2 separate regions of the Homo sapiens genome follow, and region 2 is linked to region 1. Evidence: promoter capture Hi-C in human tissues and cell types (Jung and others, 2019). All regions are on one chromosome and are shown on one strand. The core of a region is centred on a gene start or on the middle of the fragment in contact, and the rest is flanking DNA. Distances in the headings are between cores, read along the strand shown.

The links. The method cuts DNA at HindIII sites, captures the fragments that hold promoters and counts their contacts. A contact is called where the count stands out against the background at its distance.
Region 2: a contact is called between the fragment with the promoter of COLGALT1 here and the fragment with the promoter of RAB3A in region 1, in 1 of the 25 tissues and cell types used here (spleen).

Annotation. Positions count from the first base shown.
Region 1 is chr19:18,201,338-18,208,557 of GRCh38, forward strand. RAB3A (RAB3A, member RAS oncogene family) reads right to left here and starts at 2,705. Exons shown (of 5, transcript NM_002866.5): 1 at 2,559-2,705; 2 at 1,176-1,403. The coding sequence starts at 1,403. LOC102725254 (a long non-coding RNA gene) reads left to right here and starts at 3,393. Exons shown (of 2, transcript NR_134910.1): 1 at 3,393-3,562; 2 at 4,119-4,226. It overlaps PDE4C (phosphodiesterase 4C), which reads right to left. Exons shown (of 15, transcript NM_001098818.4): 15 at 6,628-7,220. RefSeq lists enhancers at 1,947-2,729, 2,762-3,056, 3,242-3,341 and silencers at 2,722-3,111, 3,997-4,056. The HindIII fragment of the contact is 10,728 bases long and covers 1-6,755 here.
Region 2 is chr19:17,551,297-17,558,516 of GRCh38, forward strand. COLGALT1 (collagen beta(1-O)galactosyltransferase 1) reads left to right here and starts at 4,353. Exons shown (of 12, transcript NM_024656.4): 1 at 4,353-4,677. The coding sequence starts at 4,418. It overlaps NIBAN3 (niban apoptosis regulator 3), which reads left to right. Exons shown (of 15, transcript NM_001321827.2): 15 at 490-2,344. The coding sequence ends at 602. RefSeq lists a silencer at 4,431-4,520. The HindIII fragment of the contact is 12,267 bases long and covers 1-7,220 here.

The DNA of each region.
Region 1 (7,220 bases), core at 1,455-3,954:
TTGGGAGGCCAAGACAGGTGGATCACTTGTGGTCAGGAGTTCAAGACTAGCCTGGCCAACATGGCGAAACCCTATCTCTACTAAAAATACAAAAAAAAATTAGCTGGGCTTGGTGGTGAGCCCCTGTAATCCCAGCTACTCAGGAGGCTGAGGCAGGAGAATCGCTTGAACCCGGGAGGCAGAGGTTTCAGTGAGCCAAGATTGCACTACTGCACTCCAGCCTGGGTGACAGAGCAAAAACTCTGTCTCAAAAAACAAACAAACAAATAAACAAACATGGACTGGGCACTGATCTTTTCCACACCCTGAACTGGACACTGGGGACACAGTTGTTAACAAGATGGGCACTTCCCTTGCTAAGTGACACTCAGTGTGGGAAATAGAAAATAACGGTATAAATGTATCCTATATTGGAGAGTGACAAGGACCAAGGAGAAAAATCAAGCCAGATGAAGATGGAGAGAATTTAACTGTAGGTTTAAAAATTAAAGGAAGCTGACACTTGCCTGTACTCCCAGCTACTTGGGAAGCTGAGGCGGGAGGATTGCTTGAGCCCACGAGTTCAAATCCAGCCTGGGCAACAGAGTGAGACTCTGTCTCTTAAAACTAACAAGGCCAGGTGGGGTGGCTCATGCCTGTAATCTTAGCACTTTGAGAGGCTGAGGTGGGAGGATCGCTTGAGCCCAGGAGTTCAAGACCAGCCTGGGCAGACATAGCCCGACCCTGTCTCTACAAAAAAGAAAAAAATCAGCAGGCGTGGTGGTAGAAGCCCGTGGTCCTAGCTACTCAGGAGGCTCAGGTGGAAGAATGGTTTGAGCCTGGGAAGTCGAGGCTGCAGAGAGCCGTGATCACGTAACTGCATTCCAGCCTAGGGGACAGAGCAAGACCACCCTGTCTCAAAAAACAAACAAAAAAAGAGAATGGGGACCAAGATCCAGCTGAAACCTCATACATGGAAGAACTTGAAGATGGGGAAACTGAGGGACCAGGATTAGGTGCTTATGGGAGAACACAGGTGCTGTTTCTGCCCCGGTACACAGTGGGCACCTTACTGATAAATGCCCAGTGTGTAAGTGAATGACTCCAGTCAGGAAAGAGATAGACGAGGTTGGGGCTGCTTTTCCAAGTACGGGAATCCAACCGAGCCGGGCGGGAGCCCTCCAGCTGGGACCCACCCAGATCTGCAGCTTGATCCTCTTGTCGTTGCGATAGATGGTCTTGACCTTGAAGTCGATGCCCACGGTGCTGACGAAGGCAGGCGTGAACGAGTCGTCAGCATAGCGGAAGAGGAAGGACGTCTTGCCCACGCTGCTGTTGCCGATGATGAGAATCTTGAACATGTAGTCGAAGTTCTGATCCGAGGACTCCTTCTGCCCATAGCGCGAGTCTGTGGCGGATGCCATCTGGGGATACCGGGTGTAGCAGAGCCGTGAGGGGGGCTCTCTCCATCCTCATGTGCCCAAGCCCAGGCAGAAGATGGCAAGGGCTCCAGAAAACGGCCGGTGTATGGAGGACACCCTTATCCCATCAGGAGCCCCAGTATTAATTGGTGGTGCCCCCAGCAGAGGGCAGCCTGTGACCTTGAAATCCTGGGCGTTTCAGAGGAGGGGCTCAGAGGGTTGCCGATGGGGACACCCCAGCAGCCCCCTTCAAGGGGCAGGTGCCCCAGGTGGGGCTGTAACCCTAAACCCAGGGCTGAGCCCGGAGGGGGTGACTGCGGCTGGCTCCGCCCCCCATCAATCTTTCATGGTCCTCAGAACCCGGCCGCGCGGCCCCACGTGCACCGCGTGCATGGTCCCTCGAGGACGCGCATCTGCAGCCCCCGCTCCCCGCAAACCTCCAGGCCGGAGAGCTCCGGCCAAGGCCGCTGCATCACATGATACAGGAGGGGCATGCACACGCTCACGTGCACACAGCCTCAAACACGCTCATCCGTACATACAGGAGTGTGTGAACGCACTGAGGTGCACAGGACAAAGACACAGACACCTGTTTGCACACCGACTCGCCTATAGAAATGTGCAAACCACCCGTGCGCACAGGCCCCTCCACCCATGCAGGCGTGTGCACATCACCCACACGGACACGGATCCCCGTGCTTGTATGCACGGGCCATACCTGCACAGGCGGTCCACACGTCTTTCTCCACGCGCGTGCAACGCTCACACACTTAGGCCCAGACCCCCACGGCGTCACACGAGCATATCCAGGTACACAAGCAAGGGTGCACACAGACCCGCTGACACAGGCAGGCGCGCACACGCGTGTGCACACCACGCGCACGCGCACGCAAAAGCCTCCCGCGCGCACAGCTTCCCGCAAGGAGCTCGGCTCCCCTCCCCCTCCGCCGCAGAGCAGGGGGGTTGGGGGGGTTAGTGGTGAGGATCAGGCAGGAGTGGGGCGCCCGGGCCCTACCCATTCCCAGCCTCGCGACCGCCGCATCCTTCCCCCCATTCAACCCTAGTCAACCTCGTCCCCCACCTCCATCAGCCCATCAGTCAAATGAAGGTTATGCAGGTGCTCGGAGCCTGAGCACACCCGGCCGCCCAGGAGCTCACCTTGCCCTGCACCGATGCAACGGCGACCCTAGCGGCGGTGACTTTTTTGGCGGTGGCGGTGACAGGACCCCGGTGCGTTGATGTGGGGCTGCGCGGCGGCGGCGGCAGCAGCGGCTCAGGCCCCTGCAGTCCTCCGTGACGTCCTGCAAAGGGAGGGGCGGAGCCTCACATGTAGATAAGTCCGTGACGCCATCCGGAGGCGGAGCCGCGCGTAGAGATGTGGCCCATTGACGCACGCAGAGCCAGATGGGGCAGGGCTCCTGAGCAGATTGACGTGCAAATGGGGCGGGGCCTAGCGTGTGCATCCAGTAGGGGCGGGAGCGGCGCGGGGGCCGACTCCGCCTCTCGTCCGCCTCCTGTCCGCCTCGGGGAGGCGGGGCCCCTCAGCGTTCTCTCACTGGCTTAAGCTCTCGAGCGACGGGCGAAGTAGCCAATCAGAGATTGTCTACGCCCTCCTCTTGTCCAATGGTGGCATCTGGGAGATTGAAGGGCCGAGAGGCTGAGGCCTTGGCTGAGCCCCGGTCTTCGAGGGGCGGTTCCCTTACCCGCCCGCACCCACCCCAGGTAGGGGACTCTTGAGGCCACCGTCTAGTCCAAGGTGCTGTGACCCCTGTTAAATGCCCCTGACTCCCAATTGCAGAAAAGAAAAATCGAGGCCCAAGAGATGTTTTATACCCTCACATATATGGGGTTCAAAATAAATACCAAAGAATAAACAGGAGTCAAGAGGGACCCCTGTCCCATTCCCGAGGCGTAAGACCCCCCCACTGAGGGAGGGGCTAGTAAAGACTCCACCCCTCCCCCGTTTCTGAGGTTTGAAAAGAAAGAAGTAGAGGTCAAGAGAGCCTCCCCTCCCCACCATTCCCAGAAAAGGAGGAAGGGGCTGATGGACTCTCTGGGAACCCCCTCCCCTCCCTGCGCCCCGTCATCAAGAAGAAAATTCGAAGAAAAGGTTTAGCAGGGACAGAGAAGCGACCTGTCCCGGAAACCCCTTAAAGCCTGCGGTAAATGCCCCGGGAAACAGGGAGGGCACGAGCCGAAGCCTCCAGCTCTTCAAAGCTCGGATTCAAAGACCCGGGGGCTGGGAGACCCCCTCCCTCCATCCTGGGAAAGCAAAACTCAGAGGATGGAGCCTTTTGGGAGCTAAGATGGTCCATCTTTTATTCCTCCAAATCTTTAGGGAAGGAAGTCAGAATTTGGGGAGGGAGGAGGAGCCCGAAACCCCAGCCCCCACTTTGGGTCTCCTGCTCCCCCTACTCCAGCTTTCAAACCCTCCAGGGGTGTGTGGCCCCCAGGAGAGTCCTGATCCCCTAGATTCTCCCCCCACCCCTCCCAGTAGGCGGGGCTGGAGCGTGTGTGTGTGGCGGGGGGTGACTCGTCCTGTTTATAAAAAGCTCGCCAGCTGCGGAGGCGCCGAGAGACCAGAATAACTTAGCGCCTCGAGGCCCAGCCGCCGCCAACCCAGTCCCCAGCCCGCCCCCAGTGCCCTGGGAGTACTGGGACGCCCACCCCCACGTCCCCGCACCGTTTACATTTGGGAAATTTATTTTTTCTTTTTAGGGTAACATGTTTGCTCCCTCCTCCCCCACTCGGACTATAGAAGTATCACCAATCCACTGCAGAGAAATTGGGAAAATTCAGAAAAACAAAAAATAAAAAGAAATCCACCTCCCATTCTCCCTGCCCTCCGCGCCCACGCGGTAGTCCGTGCTCTGTGGGGGGCTCCAGGGCAGCTGGTCCAGGCCCTGGCCTGCCGCCTCCTTGGAGGGGAGGTTTTTCGGTTGCTCAGCTCCCTGATCGCCCAAAGGCACGCTTCCTACATGGGTGGCTCTCTCGGAAATACCTCCTGCCTTTTTTCCCCAGGAAGAGAAAAGTGAGCCACGAGAATGTGCGGAAGCTTCCGTCACTGACTTAGTATTTTAAAGTAAAAATAGCCGGGTGCGGAGGCTTACGCCTGTAATCCCACCACTTTGGGAGACCAAGGCGGGAGGATCGCTTGAGCCCAGGAATTGGAAACCAGCCTGAGTAACATAGGGAGGCCCCATCTCTACAAAAAATTTAAAAATTAGCTGGATGTGGTGTCGCGTGCTTGTGGACCCAAATACTCCCGAGGCTGAAGTAGGAGGATCACTTGAGCTCAGGAGGTCGAGGCTGTAGGAAACCGTATCGCGCCACTACACTCCAGCCTGGACGACAGAGTGAGACGCTGTCTCAAAAAATTAATTACTTAATTTAAATTTAAAAAGAATGCAAGCCCTTGATTGTCCAGAGCAGCATTGGGCTCTGGAATTAGAAATGGTTGAGCTGGGGGAGGGGCTGCGGGATTGGGGTATTTTCTTTGTGTCAGGGGAGACAGAGCTGGTGGGAGAACGGGCTAGGCTTCCAGGCCGGTCCCACTCAGAGGAAAGTCCAGAGGCTTCCCTGCATCCCTACCCTATCGTCTACACTAGACAAATAAAAATAAAAATGTGGCCAGGTGCGGTGGTTTATGCCTGTAATACCAGCACTTTGGGAGGCCGAGTCAGGAGGATCACTCCTTGACCTTGAGGTCAGGAGTTCGAGACCAGCCTGGCCAACATGGTGAAACCCCATCTCTGCTAAAAATACAAAAATTAGCCCGGTGTGGTGGTGCCTGTCCCAGGAGGCTGCTCAGGAGGCCCAGGCATGAGAATCGCATGAACCAGGGAGGCGGAGGTTGCAGTGAGCTGAGATCACCGGCACCACTGCACGCCAGCCTAGGTGCTAGAGGGAGACTCTGTCTCAAGAAAAAAAAAAAAAAGTATCCCAGATACGGGTCCAGGGACGACTTCTCGGGGAAGAAGACACTAACTTAAAACCCAGTGTGGGGGCCAGGTGTGGTGGCTCATGCCTGTAATCCCAGCACTTTGGGAGGCCGAGGTGGGTGGATCACCTGAGGTCAGAAGTTCAAGACCAGCGTGGTCAACATGGTGAAACCCCATTTCTACTAAATATTAGCCGGGCATGGTGGCGGTCGCCTGTAATCCCTGCTACTTGGGAGGCTGAGGCAGGAGAATCGCTTGAACCCGGGAGGCAGAGGTTGCAGTGAGCCAAGATCACGCCATTGTCCTCCAGCCTGGGCAACAAGAGCGAAACTTTGTCTAAAACAAAAATAAAAACAAAAATCTAATGGGTGAGGCTGGGGGCTGAGAGAGAAGCATTCCAGGTAGTGGGAACAGCTTGTTTGAAGGCCCTGTGGTGGGACCAGGCTTGCAGTGTGGCCAGAGCAGATGCAGTCAGTAAGAGGAGAGGGACAAATGCCTTTGGCTCAAACTGAAGGAGAACATATGAATATTCATTTATAAGAAATATGAATATTCTAGGGCTGGGTGCAGTGGCTCATGCCTGTAATCCCAGCACTTTGGGAGGCCGAGGCAGGCGGATCATGAGGTCAGGAGTTCAAGACCAGCCTGGCCAACATGGTGAAAACCCAGTCTCTACTAAAAATACAAAAATTAGCTGGGCATGGTGGTGGGCACCTGTAATCCCAGCTACTCAGGAGACTGAGGCAGGAGAATCGTTTGAACCCAGGAGGCGGAGGTTGCAGTTAGCCAAGATCACACCATTGCACTCCCGCCTGGGCGACAAGGCGAGACGCAAAGAAAGAAAGAAAGAGAAAGGGAAAAGGAAAGAAAAGAAAGACAGAGAAAGAAAGAAAAGAAAAGAAAGAAAAAAATATGAATTTTTTTTTTTTTTTTGAGACAGTCTCGCTCTGTCACCCAGGCTAGAGTGCAGTGGCTCGATCTTGGCTCACTGCAAGCTCCGCCTCCCGGGTTCAGGCCATTCTCCTGCCTCAGCCTCCCGAGTAGCTGGGACTACAGGCGCCTGCAACCACGCCCGGCTAATTTTTTGTATTTTTAGTAGAGACGGGGTTTCACTGTTAGCCAGGACGGTCTCGATCTCCTGACCTCGTGATCCGCCCGCCTCGGCCTCCCAAAGTGCTGGGATTACAGGCGTGAGCCACCGCGCCCAGCCAAAAATATGAATATCTTATAACAGATGGAGAAAAACTAGAGGGAAATAAGTCAAAATACTGCAGATAATCCATGGGTGGAGATACAGCAGAATTTTATTTCCTTCTTTATACATTTCCATTATTTCCAAATTTTTTACAGCGAACATGGTATTACTTTGTAAGCGGACTGGGGGGAAAAATCTTGAAAAAAAAATTCCCTAAATATCTTCTTTTTAAAAGTCTGGAAGGAAATGCACCAAGTTCGTGAACCCGGATGACTTTTAGTTCTGGCACTGTGGAATTTTATCATTAACTGTGATGATGATGAATTCTGAGTGGTTATAATATTTATGAACGAAGCCAGCTGCTCTGGAAGCCGAGGGCGGCTGTGATGACGCCTGTATCTTGTATAAATATTCAGGCACGCGAAGAGGGAGGCAGAGGGGAGGGATGGATACTGAGGCTTCCGGAGGCGGGGATCGAACCCTAGGCTTGAGCATGGTGCTGCCCAGTCCGCTCGGAGGCCCGACCAGCAGGACGAGCTCTTCCCGGCGAGGTGCGGTAAGTGGGACCATCAGGGCTGGAGGATGCCACCCCTCCGACCCACCCCCCAACCCCCGACAAGCGCGCCCCGCCGTGTCTCCCACGCCCGCCACCAGGGGGTGCCGCTGGCTAACATTGGGCGCCCA
Region 2 (7,220 bases), core at 3,103-5,602, 650 kb before region 1:
GTCGGCCAGGCTGATTTTGAACTCCTGACCTCAGGTGATCCACCTGCCTCGGCCTCCCAAAGTGCTGGGATTACAAGCGTGAGCCACTGCACCCGGCCTACATTTCTTTTTTTTTATTTTTATTTTTTGAGATGGAGTTTCGCTCTTGTCACCCGGGCTGGAGTGCAATGGCGCGATCTCGGCTAACTGCAACCTCTGCCTCTCGGGTTCAAGCGATTCTCATGCCTCAGCCTCCCGAGTAGCTGGGATTACAGGCGCCCACCACCATGCCCAGCTAATTTTTGTATTTTTAGTAAAGATGAGGTTTCACCATGTTGGCCAAGCTGGTCTTGAACTCCTGATCCTTGGTCTCCCAGAGTGCTGGGATTACAGGCATGAGCCATTGCGCCCAGCCAACATCTCTATTAACTCTGATTTTTTAAGCACTTATTACATGCCAGGCATCTGACACATCTGATTTTTGACGTCCGTATATTTTCCATTATACAGATGAGGAAACTGAGGCTGAGCGGGAAGGAGGGGCTTGTCCCAGGCAGCCAGACTCTGGTGCCCAGATCCAGCCACTCTGCCCACCGCCTTCTCCAGGAACATTCCGGAGCTGAATCTTCACCCACATCTATCTTGTTTCTATTGGATAAATGTCTACAAGTGGAATTTCTGGGCCAAAACGGATGTGCCATCTTTAGGCTTTTGTAACCCCTGCAACTTCAGAAAACTGTACCATTTTATACTCCAAGCAGCAGCATTTATTTGTGTATTTTCCCCAAGGCTTTCTTTATTTTAATTTTTTTTTTTTTTTTGAGACTGAGTCTTGCTCTGTCACCCGGGCTGGAGTGCAGTGGCAGGATCTCGGCTCACTGCAACCTCCGCCTCCCGGGTTCAAGCGATTCTCCTGCCTCAGCCTCCCGAGTAGCTGAGATTTCAGGCACCCGCCACCATGCCTGGTTAATTTTTGTGTTTTTAGTAGAGATGGGGTTTCACCATGTTGGCCAGGCTGGTCTCGAACTCCTGTCCTTAAGTGATCTGCCCCCCTCAGCCTCCCAAAGTGCTGGGATTACAGGTGTGAGCCACCACACGTGGCCTAATTTTTTTTTTTTAAATAATAGAGACAAGGTCTCGCTATGCTGCCCAGGCTGATCTCAAACTCCTGGACTCAAGCAATCCTCCTGCCTTGGCCTCCCAAAGTGCTAGGATTATAGGAGTGATCCACTATGTCCAGCCTCCAAATCCTTTCTAAACACTAGGACTTTTCATGAAAAGAAAAAAGCTATGCCAGTTAGACACACACAGAAATCTCATGATTTTATTTTGAATTTCTTTGACTAAATTGAACTTACAAATAAGTTTATTATGGCCAGGCGTGGCAGTGCACACCTGTAATCCCAGCACTTTGGGAGGCTGAGGCGGGCAGATCACTTGAGCTCAGGAGTTCAAGACCAGCCTGGCGAACATAGTGAGACCTCATCTCTACAAAAAATACAAAATTAGCGGCCGGGAGTGGTGGCTCACGCCTGTCATCCCAGCACTTTGGGAGGCTGAGACAGGTGGATTGCTTGAGCCAAGGAGTTTTGAGGCCAGCTTGGGCAATGTGGTGAAACCTGTCTCTACTAAAAAATAAAATAAATAAATAAATAAATAAATAAATAAATAAATAAATAAAATTTAAAAGAAGCTGGGCTGAGATGGGAGATTTACCTGAGCCTGGGAACTCAAGGCTGCAGTGAGTGGTGATTGCACCACTGCACTCCAGCCTGGGTGATGGGAGTGAGACCCTGTCTCAAAAAACAAAATCCAAATATGTTGATTAGCCATTTACATGTTTGTAGTTTTTTTTTTTTTAATTTCAGTGAATTGCCTGTTCATAGCTTTTTTCTACTTTTCAGGAGTGTTTGCATTTTTCTTATTGATATCTAATAACTCTTTATATCTGAAGGATATGAACGCTTTGTGATACAGGTTACAGATTTTGGGGTTTTTTTCTCCGCTTGCTGTGAGCCTTTTGGGTTTGTTTCCTAGCTCCAAATCTTAACTTGGTGTCAAGTTTCCTGGCTGGGAGACAAGCTTTTACCGACTTCCTCTGCTTGCCAGCAAAGTCATCTGCTAACTGGATATTGGCAGCTTCTCTGCTGTCTTGCAGCTGCTTCCGGAGTGGGTTCCACAGGGATTCCCGTGTGTTCTTGGTTCAGCTTGCAGAGGGACTTTCACACTCCCTGGAGACCGTTTCCTCCCATTCTGTCTGGAGTTTTCGGCCTACCCCAAGACAATGAGATATTCCTGACCTTTCCACCTATTTCCCTCCAACCCCACCTTCCGAAATACATTTGCTCAATACATTTGCACTTCATAGGCTTCTTTAGCTGTCTTCCTTTTACCCCGGACGGGATGTAGATGTTAATTCTGGAACAATTGCAGCTACAAGAATTTGTCATCCTGCCCCTTTTGAGAAAAACATTGTTTGCCCTTGGGTCTAAATCCTTCCAGATGGGATGGGATGTATCTTGTCACCTCCTTTTTCTTACTTAATATGAAAAGACCTTTCCTCATCAAGTCCACAGAGTGTAAATTTGTTTTTACCTTTTTTTTTTTTTTTTTGAGACGGTGTCTCACTCTGTCACCCAGGCTGGAATGCAGTGGTGCGATTTTGGCTCACTGCAACCTCCACCTCCTGGGTTCAAGTGATTCTCCTGCCTCGGCCTCCGTAGTAGCTGGGATTACAGGCGAAGCGCCACCATGACCGGCTAATTTTTTGTGTTTTTAGAAGAGATGGGGGCTTCACCATATTGACCAAGCTGGTCTCGAACTCCTGACCTCAAGTGATCCGCCTGCCTCAGCCTCCCAAAATGCTGGGATTACAGGCGTGAGCCACTGCACCTGGCCTGTATCATTCTTAAAAATTAAGTTTTAGCGGGGCATGATGGCTCACTGGTAATCCCAGCAGTTTGGGAGGCTGAAGGGGGAGGATTACTTGAGACCAGGAGTTTGAGAACAGCCGGGGCAACATAGCGAGACTCCATCTCTACAAAAAATTTAAAAATTAGCTGGGCGTGGTTGAGTGCACTTGTAGTCCCAGCTACTTGGGAGGCTGAGGCAGGAGGATCAGTTGAGCCCAGGAGGTTGAGGCTGCAGTGAGCCATGATCATGTGATCATGCCACTGCACTCTAGCCTGAGCCACAGAGTAAGACCCTCTCTGTGAAAATAATAATAAGCTGGGCGCGGTGGCTCACGCCTGTAATCCCAGCACTTTGGGAGGCTGAGGTGGGCGGATCAGGAGGTCAGGAGTTCGAGACCAGCCTGGCCAATATGGTGAAACCCCATCTCTACTATAAACAAAAATTAGCCGGGCGTGGTGGCGCGTGCCTGTAGTCCCAGCTACTCAGGAGGCTGAAGCAGGAGAATCGCTTGAACCCGGGAGGCGGAGGTTGCAGTGAGCCGAGATCGCGCCACTGTACTCTAGCCGGGGCAATGGAGTGAGACGCTGTCTCAAAAAAAAAAAAAAAGAAAATAATAATAATAATAATAATAATGTTCAGATGTATTTTTTAAAGTTTTTATTGTTTTTAAAAATAGAGGCACGGTCTTGCTATGTTGCACCACTGCACTCCAGCCCGGGCAACAAAGCCAGACTCCGTCTCAAAAAAAAAAAAAAAAAAGTGTGATACTAAGTCAATCAATTTGAAAATGCGGCTCTAGAGTATTGGAAAACAATCCCTTGACAGCGTTTCCATGAAAACATGGCCCTTGTCTCTGGAAGAGCTTGTGCCCAGAACGGTCCATTATCATGCCCTGGCTCTATTTTCACGCCAACCCTATAGGGTCTCTATGATCTCATTTTATAGATGGACAGACTGAGGCTCACATATAGCAAGCCCAAGGCGGGGACTGAATGTGACGCCAGGTCTGTGGACGTCATGACCTTTATTCTCCACAACCCTCAATGACATCCCTGTGAGATCCAAAACCAGGATGGCAAAACCCACGTTGCAGCAGAGGAAACTGAGGCTAAGGTCTCTTGGGTCCCAAACCAGGTCCTAAGTAGCCAAGTCCGCCTGGTGGCACAGCCCGGGTTTTATACATGGGGAAATTGGGCGGCGCATCTGGCGGAGGTCTCAGTGGTAGGAGGCGCCTGGAGGAAGCGCGGGTTCCTAACCCTAACGCTACCCCTAACATCCCTTCCACGCGCTCCGAGCGCTATGTGCCTTTAAGATCGGTGCGGGGGCGGGGCGTCCTGGGTAGGGCTGCAGGTGACGTCACTCCGGGCCTTGGGACTCGGAGAGCGTCTGGAGGCGGGGCCTGGACTTCACGCCCGGCGCGCTCCTCCCCTTTAAGGCGCGCGGCCGGGCGGGGCCCCTATGACCCCTTTAAGGCGCGGCCAGAGTCCTCCCGCAGAAAAACGACTTAAAGGAGACGCGTGGCGCGATGGCGGCGGCCCCACGCGCGGGCCGGCGGCGCGGGCAGCCGCTCCTGGCGCTGCTGCTTCTGCTGCTGGCGCCACTGCCGCCGGGGGCCCCGCCGGGCGCCGACGCCTACTTCCCCGAGGAGCGCTGGAGCCCGGAGTCGCCCCTGCAGGCGCCGCGCGTGCTCATCGCGCTGTTGGCGCGAAACGCGGCCCACGCGTTGCCCACCACGCTGGGCGCACTCGAGCGGCTGCGGCACCCGCGGGAGCGCACGGCGCTATGGTGAGTCGAGCCCGCTGTCCCCATCAGGCGGGTCACGCGAGCCCCTGCTTGCTGTCCCCATAGGGGTGGGTCCACGCGAGCCCCTGCCCGCTGTCCTCTTCTGGGCGGGTCCGCGCGTGCTTCCTGCTCGCTACCCCCATCGGGACGGTTCTACGCATGCCCCTGCCCGCTGCCCCCATCGGGACGGGTCCACGCGTGCCCCCTGCCTGCTGTCCTCCCATGGGGCCAGACACAGCCCTCCCCACAACACAAGCGGGACCGAGTTCCTCCTGCTGGCTCCTTTGGGGTGGGCTGGGCACCGCTTCTGCCTGCTGGACCCTACTAGGGCAGCTCCGGCCTCACTAACTGGGGCTCTAACTCCCTCTGGGGCACGTACACCTCCAAAGGACGGAGCCCAGAGCCCCCACTGGGGCGTTGCCAGAGGCCACATCTAACAGCAAGCCTTTCTGTGCCGGCTGCTGCCCTTAAGCTTGAACTCAGCCTGGCTCCAGGCCCCAGTCAAACCCCTGCCCTCAGACCGGCGTGGGTGGAGTCCAGGACCAGATGGCCCAGGAGGAAGTGGATGCTTTCTTGGTAGGGAATGGGGCAGAGCTCTGAAGAAACCTTTGACTGGTGACTTCTCACTCCCTGCCTCAGTTTTCTCAAATGGAAAATGGGTCCGGGTGCAGTGGCTCACGCAGTAATCCTAGCAATTTGGGAGGCCAAGGTAAGCGGGTCACTTGAGCTCAGGAGTTCGACACCAGCCTTGCCAACATGGCAAAACCCCGTCTCTAGAAAAAAAATACAAAAATTAGCCAGGTGCGGTGGTGTGTGCCTGTAGTCCCAGCTATTCAGGAGGCTGACGCAGGAGAATCGCTTGAGCCCAGGAGTTCGAGGCTGCAGTGACCTATGATTGCACCACTGCACTCCAGCCTGGGCTACAGAGTAAGACCTGCCTCTAAAAAAAGAAAAAGAAAAGAAAATGAGCGTATTAATATAATTCTCTTTTTGGGTTTGTCTCTGAAGATTATCCAGTTAATGGATGTGGAGCCCTTGGGTCTGGCATGGGCTTGGCTCTCAGTGATTTTATTATCATGATTACTGTCATTGCTGGTGTTATTGTCAACTTAATTTATTGGGCAGAATTAGCTTTTGGCACTACGGTCAAACTAAACTCCCAAATGTCGCTTTTCCTTCCACCTGATTTCTCAGTCTGGATAATCCAAATACACAATTGGTACTTAACAAATGTTTGTTGAATGAATAATTGACTGCAGCCCACTGAAGTGGTGTGGCTCACAGGAGAAGATGAAGGCAGGGTAAGGGATTTATGAGATATACTTTGAGATATACTTTTTTTTTTCTCTCAGACGGAATCTTGCTCTGTCGCCCAGGCTGGAGTACAGTGACACGATCTCAGCTCATTGCAACCTCCGCCTCCGGGTTCAAGTGATTCTCCTGCCTCAGCCTCCCGAGTAGCTTGGGATTACAGGTGCGCACCACCATGCCTGGCTAATTTTTGTATTTTTAATAGAGTCAGGGTTTCACCATTGTGGCCAGGCTTGTGTTGATCTCCTGACCTCATGATCTGCCTGCCTCGGCCTCCCTAAGTGCTGGGATTACAGGCATGAGCCACAGCGCCCTGCTGAGATATACTTTTTTTTTTGATACAGGGTTTTACATCTGTCGCCCAGGCGGGAGTGCAGTGGTGCAATCCTAGCTCACTGCAACTTCCCCCTCCTGGGCTCAAGTGATTCTCCTGCCTCAGCTTCTTGAGTAACTGGGACTACAGGCGTATGCCACTGCGCCCAGCTAATTTTTGTATTTTTTCTAGAGATGGGGTTTTGCCCTATTGGCCAGGCTGGTCTCGAACTCCCGAGCTCAAGTGACCTGCCCACCTCGGCCTCCCAACATATTGGGATTACAGGCGTGAGCCATTGCACCCAGCTGGTTTCTGATATATACATTTCATTTTTTAATATTTTTTATTTATTTATTTTTTGAGACTGAGTCTCGCTCTCGTTGCTGAGGCTGGAGTGCAGTGGCACGATCTCGGCTCACTGCAACCTCCTCCTCCCAGGTTCAAGCGATTCTCCTGCCTCGGCCTCCTGAGTAGCTGGGATTACAGGTGCCCGCCACCACACCCAGCTAATTTTTTGTGTTTTTAGTAGAGATGGGATTTCACCATGTTGGCCAGGCTAGGCTCAAACTCCTGGCCTCAAGTGATTCACCCGCCTCGGCCTCCCAAAGTGCTGGAATTACAAGCGTGAGCCACCATGCCCGGCCTAATTTTTGTATTTTTAGTAGAGATGGGGTTTCGCCATGTTGGCCAGGCTGGTCTCAAACTCCTGACCTCAGGTGATACACCCGCCTCGGCCTCTCAAAGTGCTGGGATGACAGGCGTGAGCCACCGTGCCTGGCCTGATCTATACATTACAAAAATTGCCGTGTGCGGTGGCTCATTCCTGTCATCCCAGCACTTTGGGAGGCTGAGGCAGGTGGATCACCTGAGGTCAGGAGTTCGAGAGCAGCCTGGCCAACATGGCGAAACCCCATCTCTACTA